Regions from separate parts of the Homo sapiens genome. Here all the other regions are linked to region 2. Evidence: promoter capture Hi-C in 16 types of primary human blood cells and fetal thymus (Javierre and others, 2016). All regions are on one chromosome and are shown on one strand. The core of a region is centred on a gene start or on the middle of the fragment in contact, and the rest is flanking DNA. Distances in the headings are between cores, read along the strand shown.

The links. Contacts are between HindIII fragments. The CHiCAGO score rates a contact against its expected background, and 5 or more counts as called.
Region 1: a contact is called between a fragment that was not itself captured here and the fragment with the promoter of JPH3 in region 2, in 1 of 17 cell types (endothelial precursors). The highest score is 7.7, in endothelial precursors.
Region 3: a fragment that was not itself captured here is called in contact with the fragment with the promoter of JPH3 in region 2 in 2 of 17 cell types (endothelial precursors and megakaryocytes); the score reaches 7.1 in endothelial precursors.

The regions. Positions count from the first base shown.
Region 1 is chr16:87,767,599-87,770,974 of GRCh38, forward strand. The region is part of intron 1 of LOC105371399 (a long non-coding RNA gene); the gene reads left to right. All of the region lies in intron 3 of LOC102724467 (a long non-coding RNA gene), which reads right to left. Among named protein-coding and RNA genes, the nearest start is that of KLHDC4, 3.3 kb to the left of the region's middle. The HindIII fragment of the contact is 483 bases long and covers 1,544-2,026 here.
Region 2 is chr16:87,601,241-87,604,604 of GRCh38, forward strand. JPH3 (junctophilin 3) reads left to right here and starts at 1,268. Exons shown (of 5, transcript NM_020655.4): 1 at 1,268-2,288. The coding sequence starts at 1,907. LOC124903750 (a long non-coding RNA gene) reads right to left here and starts at 943. Exons shown (of 2, transcript XR_007065172.1): 1 at 772-943. RefSeq lists an enhancer at 1-369. The HindIII fragment of the contact is 10,792 bases long and covers 1-3,364 here.
Region 3 is chr16:87,417,141-87,420,331 of GRCh38, forward strand. ZCCHC14 (zinc finger CCHC-type containing 14) reads right to left here. Exons shown (of 13, transcript NM_015144.3): 6 at 2,643-2,737; 7 at 1,707-1,761; 8 at 320-602. Among named protein-coding and RNA genes, the nearest start is that of MAP1LC3B, 26 kb to the left of the region's middle. The HindIII fragment of the contact is 4,091 bases long and covers 1-3,191 here.

The sequences.
Region 1 (3,376 bases), core at 535-3,034, 170 kb after region 2:
TGTGAGTCAGCCTTTAAAAGTTCTCTTAGGCCAGGCGTGGTGGTTCATTCCTGTAATCCCAGCACTTTGGGAGGCTGAAGCGGGCTGATCACGAGGTCAGGAGTTCAAGACCAGCCTGGCCAATATGGTGAAACCCTGTCTCCACTAAAAATACAAAAAAAAAAAAAAAAATTAGCCAGGTGTGGTGGCACCCACCTGTAGTCCCAACTATTCAGGAGGCTGAGGCAAAAGAATCATTTGAACCTAGGCGGCAGAGGTTGCAGTGAGCGGAGATTGCACCACTGCACTCCAGCCTGGGCGACAAAGCAAGACTCCATCTCAAAAAAAAAAAAAAAAAAAGATGTTATCTTAGATCCAGCCAGGTGTGATGGCTCACGCCTGTAATCCTAGCACTTTGAGAGGCAGAGGCAGGCAGATCACCTGAGGTCAGGAGTTTGAGACCAGCCTGATCAACATGGTGAAACCCCATCTCCACTAAAAATACAAAATTAGACAGGCATGGTGGTGCGCACCTGTAATCCCAGCTACTCGGGAGGCTGAGTCAGGAGAATGGCTTGAGCCTGGGAGACAGAGGTTGCAGTGAGCCGAGACTGAACCACTGCACTCCAGCCTGGGCAACAGAGCTAGACTCCGTCTCAAAAAAAAAAAAAAAAAGAAGAAGTTAACTCGGCCAGGCGTAGTGGCTCACATCTGTAATCCCAGCACTTTGGGAGGCCAAGGTGGGCAGATCACGAGGTCAGGAGTTCAAAACCAGCCTGGCCAACATGGTGAAACCCCGTCTCTACAAAAATACAAAAAAATTAGCCAGGTGTGGTGGTGTGCACCTTTAATCCCAGCTACTCAGGAGGCTGAGGTAGGAGAATTGCTTGAACCGGGAGGAAAGGTTGCGGTGAGCCCAGATCACGCCATTGCACTCCAGCCTGGGCAGCAAAAGCGAAACTCTGTCTCAAAAACAAAAAAAGTTACCTTAGATCCAATCAATGACTAGTCACTGAGCAGCTGAGGAGGAATGATTTTCCAACCCACTCCAAGCCTTATCCATAAACCTAGCTCTTTAAGAAGAAAAATGAAATTTGGGGAAATAATGAGAAGAAAAGATAGCACTGGTTGAAGACCACCATGGTCTCCAGCACTGCTTGTAGGAAACCTATGTGGTGGTAGAAAAAAAAAACCGGTTAGGAGCTGAGCAGAAAGGAGCTGGAGAATTTCACAGAAACCCAGCCTGGGCATCCAGGCATGTTTATCTTCCATGACGAACTACAAAAGGCTAAATCCTCACTATTGCCCTCGGGAAATAGTTCTGTCCCCTCTAGTGTACTATGACTTTAAGAACATACGTAATCCTTTAATATTTTTCTAAAAATCCTGGGTAAACCTGAGGCAATGCACTTGAAGCCAAAAGGCTCTTCATTCACAGCACATCTGGCTGCAGTACATTACAGTGGTGCCCACTTCAGGCCGGAGACAGGGAGAGCGTATGACCTATTGAAGATTTAGGAGGATCTGGTGGATGCGGGGTTTAATACTTTTATTATCTGAAAGAAGCTTGAAGCTAAATTAGAAGGCTCTTGGATTATAGGTGTCATGGTGATTTACGTGAGACTGAAATTCTCATACTGAGAAAGACGGAATAGAACATCTAAAATGAGATCAGATCCTAAAATAGTCAAAAGATTAAGTACAAGGCTCTATTTTAGTAAAATTCACATTGTTGAAACTTTCATGGATTATCTTTAATCTGTCGCTGACTTTTAGAGTGTATCTTTTGTGTGATCAGGCGCCCTCTGCTGCCTTCAAGTTGAAGTGCAGAAGAGAAAAAAAATCTATTAATAATAGATTAAATTTTAGGAAAATATGCTAACTTCTAATTATCCTCACCACAAGTAATCAATGTGATTGGAAGGTTCTGCCAAGTGTGGTATGGATTACGTGGCTCTTTGCACGTTTCCCAGCAGGAAAGTGGGAATAATGAACTAGTTCACCTATTACACAGGATTCTTGGGAAAATCAAGTGAAACAATAATAAAGCTTAGGAAAGAGGCCAGGCGCGGTGGCTCACGCCTGTAATCCCAGCACTTTGGGAGGCTGAGGCGGGTGGATCACGAGGTCAGGAGATCAAGACCATCCTGGCTAACACGGTGAAACCCCGTCTCTACTAAAAATACAAAAAATTAGCCGGGCGCGGTGGCGGGCGCCTGTAGTCCCAGTACTCGGGAAGCTGAGGCAGGAGAATGGCGTGAACCCGGGAGGCGGAGCTTGCAGTGAGCCAAGATCGCACCATTGCACTCCAGCCTGGGCGACAGAGTGAGACTCCGTCTCAAAAAATAAAAATTAAAAATAAATAAAATAAAGCTTAGGGAAGTAAAAAAGCAAAACACAAAGGCTTTTTTTTTTTTTTTTTGAGACAGAGTCTCACTCTGTCACCCAGGCTGGAGTGCAGTGGCACTATCTCAGCTCACTGCAACCTCCGGCTCCCAAGTTCTTACCTCAGCCTCCCAGGTAGCTGGGATTACAGGCATCTGCCACCACACCCAGCTAATTTTTGTATGTTTTATAGAGACAAGGTTTCACCATGTAGGCCAAGCTGGTCTCAAACTCCTGACCTCACGTGATCCACCCGACTGGGCATCTTAAAGTGCTGGGATTACAGGCGTGAGCCACCATGCTGGCCTTACTGAATTTTTCCCACTTCTTTGAATCCATTCCAGAGAGAGGAATAATAAGATTTCCAACTATAATCAGGGATTTATCTATGTGTTGCTTATATACAATAAACTGTATATATTTCAAGTGTGCACAGGTGGCTGGGGTGAGGCAGGTGGCTGCTGAGGAGCAAGAGGGATCTACAGTTGTCCCCTGCCCTATGAGAAGGGCCACCCACTCAGGAGGGGCCTCAAGGGATGATGAGAAATGAGTATGGAATTTGTCAGCCTTGAAGTTCCAAATTGGAAACCTGGAAACATGTGTCCCGTCTTCTTCATCAAGATTGTCCAATTTTTTTTCTTTTTTTTTTTTTTTTTTTTTGAGACGGAGTCTCACTCTGTCTCCCAGGCTGGAGGGCAGTGGCGCTATCTCGGCTCACTGCAAGCTCCGCCTTCCGGGTTCACGCCATTCTCCTGCCTCAGCCTTCCAAGTAGTTGGGAAAACAGGCGCCCGCCACCATGCCCGGCTAATTTTTTTTTGTATTTTTAGTAGAGACGGGGTTTCACCATGTTAGCCAGGATGGTCTCGATCTCCTGACCTCGTGATCCGCCCGCCTCAGCCTCCCAAAGTGCTGGGATTACAGATATGAGCCACCGCGCCCGGCCGATTTTCCAGTGTCATAGCATAAAGCAATAAGTGATGTTCTTCTAATTAAAACAATAAATTAAAGTGT
Region 2 (3,364 bases), core at 18-2,517:
GCTGGTACTCTGGGGAGGGAGCTTTGGTGCCCAAGGCAAGAGACTGAGGTTGAACTCTGGGACTCCCAGGAGGGGCTGATTTTTCTGAGAGCCCCGTGAGCCAAGAGTGGGGACCATCCTGATTCTCTCGGACAGGGGAAGATCTGAGCAGGGCTCCTGGCTGATTGGAGGCTCCGAATCGCACCTCTTCTCCTGTCCTAATCTCAGGCTCCAGGCCTGGCTTGCAGTTTCTGGCTCACCGCGCTGCGGTCACCGGCCCACACTCCCAGGAGCGAGGACCCTGGGCAGCCTCCACACCCCCATCAGCCCACTGCACCGGTCTGCTGCCATTTCCCGCACGCATTTCAGGAGGGCTGGGGACGCCGGCTTCTGCCTGAGGATTTATGGTCCAGGAAATGCATTTTAAATGGATCCCAGGATGCTCGGATCCAAGAATCAGACTCTCTCTTGTGCGTGGGAAGAGGGGCGGAGGGTGAGAGTATGTCTGGAGAGAGACCTAGAAACGCCCGAATGGCGGTCCCACTTTGCTCCCCAAAAGCGCGACCGTTCCCCGAGTGGGGGGGCGCTACCTGTTGGCCAGGGCGCAGGGCGCACGGAATTCGGGTGACTTTGCTCCAAGATACACGCGTGTGTCCCGACTCTCACTCAATTTATAGGGGAGAGGGACTCGCCAAATCCCTGTTTTCTGGGGTAAGCCCCCCTCCCCCCACTCTTGGACCCAAGCTGCCCGGAAGGAAGAAGGAAGCATTGTTTGTCACCGGAGAAAACCACCTGTGGTTTGCAAAGGGCCTCAGTCGAGTCAGGGGCAGGCGGGGCAGATCCGAGCCCGGCGGGAGGGGCGAGGCGCGGGGGCGGGCAGGGGCGAGGGTAGGGGCGCTCAGCTGGCAGGTCCTGCTCTGCAGGCCTCACCGCCCAGCTCCCGGGAGGGGGCCGAGGGCGCCCTGAGTGCTGCGCGCCTTCCCATGACGCAGTTCCTGTGCCTTTAAATCCCACTCCCGGAGGGGGCGGGGGCGCCCCGGCTGGACCCCGGTTTCCAGTCCGGCGGGGGCCCCGGGGAAGCCCAGGGCGGGGAGCGCGGGGCTGGGGGCGCGGAGGGCGGGGCGCCCGGGGTCCCCGCCCGCGCGCCGCGCCCTAGCCTGCTGGGCCGCGCCCCTCTTGGGACCGCCGCGCTCCGGGGGCGGGGGCGGGGGCGGGGGCGGGGGGCGGGGGGCGGGGGGCGGGCGGGGGCGCGCGGGCGGGCGGGGTGCGGGCGCGCGCCGCGCGGCCCGAGCGCGCGAGCCGGGCCCGGAGCGCACGCCGCCGCCGCCACCGCCGCCGCCGCCGCCCGAGCCGCCGCATTGCTGCTGCTGCTGCCGCCGCCGCCCCGCGCCCGGCCCGCGGCCCCCAATATGGTGCAGCCGCCAGCGCCGCCGCCCGTGCCGCCGCCGCCGCCCGCGGGCCCCGCCGCCGCCCTCGGGCGCCCGCAGCGCGGCAGCCGCAGGTGGGGGGCCGCGGCCCGGGCCTGAGCTGCCCCCCGCCCGGCCTCGGCGCGGCGCCCTCCCCGCGGGGCTGCCGGCGAGGGGCCCTCTCGCCGCTGAGGTGGAGCCGCGGGCCCCGCCGCCGCCGCTCCTGCCCCCTCCCTCCCTCCTCCCCTCCCCCTCCCCTCCGGTCCTGTCTCCAGCGGGAGCGCGAGACGCTGGTCAGGCTCCGCGGCGCAGCTCGAAAAGGAATAATCGCCCCCGATTGACTGAAATTCCTCCGGAGCCGGCGCCGCGGCCGCCCGCGCCCGAGACCGCGCTCCGGGGCCGCGTCCTCCTCTCCTCCGGAAAACGCTCGCGACCCAGGGCCGCCGGCGGCCGCGACTCTGCTGTGTCGATCGCCTGAGTCCGTTTTCACCGTTTGCGGGATCTGGAACCGAGTTACATGCATGTCCAGTGGGGGCAGGTTTAATTTTGACGACGGAGGGTCCTACTGTGGAGGCTGGGAGGACGGCAAGGCGCACGGCCATGGCGTCTGCACCGGCCCCAAGGGCCAAGGCGAATACACCGGCTCGTGGAGCCACGGCTTCGAGGTGCTGGGCGTCTACACCTGGCCCAGCGGCAACACGTACCAGGGCACCTGGGCGCAGGGCAAGCGCCACGGCATCGGCCTGGAGAGCAAGGGGAAGTGGGTGTACAAGGGCGAGTGGACGCACGGATTCAAGGGGCGCTACGGGGTGCGGGAGTGCGCGGGCAACGGGGCCAAATACGAAGGGACCTGGAGCAACGGGCTGCAGGACGGCTACGGGACCGAGACCTACTCGGACGGAGGTAGGTGCCGCGGGCCGGGCCGGGCCGGGGCGGGAGGGACGTGCTTCCGATCGCGCCCCTTCTGTGGATCTCTGGGGAAGTTGAGCTGCGTCCTCCGGTTGGGCCGTGGGCACCAGGGGCCTTTCCCGGGCTTCCCTGGAAGCCACGGCGGCTCCTGGCTACAGGTTGCCCCGCTGCCTGGTGGGGACAGTGCCCCTGTGCCAGCTGAAGGGTGTTGGGGGCTTTCCAGGGGCAGAGCCAGGCGGGGCCCAGCAGAGCCTCCGTGCGTCGGACACAGCAGGCCGGAGACCTGCGGGAAGGGCCAGGCTGGGCCCGCGGCCCTGGGGAACCCAGCAAGGGCAGAGGGGGCTGGGAGAAGGGCCCCTCCCCTTGTTGGCTTTGCCCCCCACCCTGGAGGCCGCCCTTCGATCAGGCCCCAGCTTCGCTTCTGGTGTTCCTGCGGCGCCCGAGGGCCTTCCTCAGCCCCGAATCTGCCCAAGCCGAGAGAAAGGGAGTGATGGGGAGCGCTAGGGGCGGGGGATGCCAACCCGAACCAAAACAGCCAGGCAGTACACTTCTAGGTGGTTGGACGCGGACTAGCGCTGTCGAAGCAGGCTGCTGGAGGGAGGAGGGAGGCCCATCTGCTCAGTGAGAGCCCAGGAATCTCGTCTTTCAGTGGCTGCATCGTTTTCACCATTAGTTGAGGGAATCGATCTGTGCCTTCATTCTAAGATGCCACCGCATTCGGGGCAGAGCCGGGGCCGGAAGCCAGGGAGCTGCCTGCTGCTGCTGCTGCTGCTGCTGCTGCTGCTGCTGCTGCTGTAAGATGGTTTCTGTGCAGGGAACCTTGGCCGGCTCTGCAGCTGCCCGCCTGCCTGGACTCTCCGATATCCACTCCTCAGTGCACCTGACACGCATGGAGCCGGTCCTTTCCTGGAAGCCAGACCCCAAACAAACTGGCTTCCCCGACCAGTCCACTCCCATGTGGGAGCTTATCCTCAGAGGCACTGGGTCCTCTGCCTCCCTCGGGCGGCTCGCCTGTTTCAGGCATGGATGCCTGGGAAGGGAGTGAGACGCAGCAATGACTTGTGCTTCTG
Region 3 (3,191 bases), core at 495-2,994, 180 kb before region 2:
GGGCACCGTGCCAGAGCTCAGGATTTCTGTCCACAGCAGGGCTCTGGGGACGGACTGTCCCTCCCGTCACGCAGAGCATCTAGTTTGTGAAGGTCTTGAAGCCCCTAGACAAGCTGTTTGTTTACAACATGTCCTGTTTGTGGCTGGCTGCAGCTGCAGGCGGCCTCCGCAAAGCCCACCGTCTCCCTTAAGAACAGGCGCTGCGCCTCGGCCTCCGTACTTCATCCACCTTGTGTTGGTTTGGAAACTCAATGCCCCCAGGGAGGTCTTGAGTAAACAATCTAGCAATTCTGTACGGCCAGCCAGAAAACCGACATACCTTCTCCATGGAGAGCTGCTTAAAGACGGGGTAATACTTGTGCAAACGCAGTTTCCTAAGCCAGTCTAGAATCCCATTCTGCTCCTGGGTCTGAGGGGTCTGCAGACTGGAAGGCATGAGGATGGCAGGTGATGTGTCCATCTGGGTCCGGTAGGCCAGGGCTGAGCCCGCGCTGCCCGCATGGGAGCAGTGAGGCAAGGGGGCGGCGGAGCCGGCCGGGTGCTGCCCGTGGTGCTGGGCTCCGCTCTGCGAGGACGGGATACCAGCCACTCCACACACAGGCCTGTGGGACAGGGGCAGGAGGGACACAGAGAGACTGTGGCTTCCACAACCACAGACTCCACCACAGACCTCACTTCCAGGCCTTTCTGTGCCAGCCTCTGCCTCTTGGCCGGCCCTGTTGTCACAGGCCACCCTGAACTGCCAACACTGCTGTGCTATGACTGCCCTCCCTCCCCAACCACCTTTCTGCAGCTAAGATTTCTGTAATGCATGTCTGTGCACACGTGTGCATACAGGCGGCTGTGCATATACACACACATGCCTCTGCCCGTGCTTCGGAGTATGCGTCTACTTGTGTGTACGTATGTGTATTATGTATGTGTACGTCTCTGTCCCCACCAGACTTCTGCTTTAGCTGCCAAGTTTCTGTTACTTGTATTTTTTAAAAACATGCTACTCCGATAGGTATTTCTGTTACTTCTAAGTCACAGAATGACACTGATAAATCATACATCAAAATAGACTATTAAATCTTTAATGTTCAAATACAATTTTTCTAGAAAAGTAAAACGCAGAAGGCTGGAAGGTGTGACCGGCACTCCACTCTGGCCTTGCTCCTTAACTGCAAAGTCACACCTGCTGACTGGGCGCTTACCCTACCCCGACACCAGGAGGATGCCAGTCTACGCCTCGAAACCTCGCGCCCAGACAACATCTCCACGAGACTCCCTATGGGGGTGCGTGTGCACTGATCTGTGACAGCCCACCTCACTGTCAGCAAAGATGGGAGCCTCTGTGTTGCCGGCATACGACTGCAGCTACCCAGGGCCCGTGCGGACAGAGGACGCTCCTCAGGAGCACGACCCTATGCTTCTGGGAGCAGGTTTCTCACAGCCAGATTCTCGGAAATTCTGACTTTCTACGTCTATGATGGGGCCCAGGACCTTGCACTGGGGAGGAGTCCCTGGGAATTCTGATTCCAGTGGCTTAGAGAACTCTTTTTTTGGAAATCGTAAATTCAATCATCTCTACTCAATTCTTCTCAATATCATCCAAGACTCAACTTGAGCATGACTTAATTCTTGGAACAACTTTACACAGAACTCAAAGTAAACATTGTAAAATGCTTATCTGAACTGTGCTGGTTACATAGAAGATTTCTCACCTTCCAGACACGCCCATCACGGTACCTACTTTAGAAAGGGAGGGATTGCCAGGACCTATAAATTTAAAAATAAATACCATAAAAATTTACAGACAATGAAAATATTTGTTTTATTTTATTATTTTTTGAGACGGTGTTTTGCTCTTGTTGCCCAGGCTGGAGAGCAATGGTGCGATCTCGGCTCACTGCAACCTCTGCCTCCCGGGTTCAAGTGATTCTCCTGCCTCAGCCTCCCGAGTAGCTGGGACTACAGGCGACTGCCACCACGCCCGGCTAATTTTATATTTTTATTTTATTTTGGAGATGGAGTCTTGCTCTGTCAACCATGCTGGAGTGCAGTGGGGCAATCTCGGCTCACTGCAACCACCGCCTCCCGGGTTCAAGTGATTCTCCTGCCTCAGCCTACTGAGTAGCTGGGATTACAGGAGCCTGCCACCACGCCCGGCTAATTTTGTATTTTTATTTTATTTTGGAGATGGAGACTTGCTCTGTCAACCATGCTGGAGTGCAGTGGTGCAATCTCGGCTCACTGCAACCACCGCCTCCCGGGTTCAAGTGATTCTTCTGCCTCAGCCTCCCAAGTAGCGGGGACTGCAGGCATGCATCACCACGCCTGGCTAATTTTTTTGTATTTTTAGTAGACACGGGGTTTCACCATATTGGCCGGGCTGGTCTTGAACTCCTGACCTCGTGATCCACCCGCCTCAGCCTCCCAAAGTATTGGGATTATAGGCGTGAGCCACTGCGCCCAGCCTAATTTTGTATTTTTAGTAGAGACAGGGTTTTTCCATGTTGGTCAGGCTGGTCTTGAACTCCCAACCTCAGGTGATCCGCCCGCCTCAGCCTCCCAAAGTGCTGGGATTACAAGCATGAGCCACTGCGCCCAGCTGTTTTTTTTTTTTTTAATTTATATTTAACCATATTTTACAAACTCACTTGGACTCTGAAGCTGCTGTGGGGGAGAGGAAGTGCTGAGAAACCTCCTGACATGGTCATTTTTCAACACGTGAGAAGGTAATGAGGCCAGGTACCTAAAAGGCAAACAAGTGGTCTTATCAACATTAAAATGGCATTCCTGCTGACGAATTGAAAGAAAAAAATTTAACTTTTAATCAAGAGAAATGTGTATTAGAGGAAAAAAGCCAGAAGTGCCAGAGCCTCATATTCTTCCTGCTTTAATTCAACTGAGTTCTTGCCCGACTGCCACTGCTTCTTCAAGCCCTTCCTCTCAATGCTGTATTCATGGCCACCAAGGTTGACGACAGCAGTCATGCCCTGTGACATGAGATCAGTGCCACCCACCAGCCAGAAAGGTGCTTGGACACTGGTCCCCAGGGCCCCGGCAGCAGCACATTTACGGAACTGGTCGGCCATGTTACTTCGTGTGCCACGTGAGCCAAGACACGATCGAGGGTCCAGAGAAACTGTTTAAGAGACGCCAATTTTATCTGGGAATAGTCTCAACCTTGGACTACAGGATGGAAA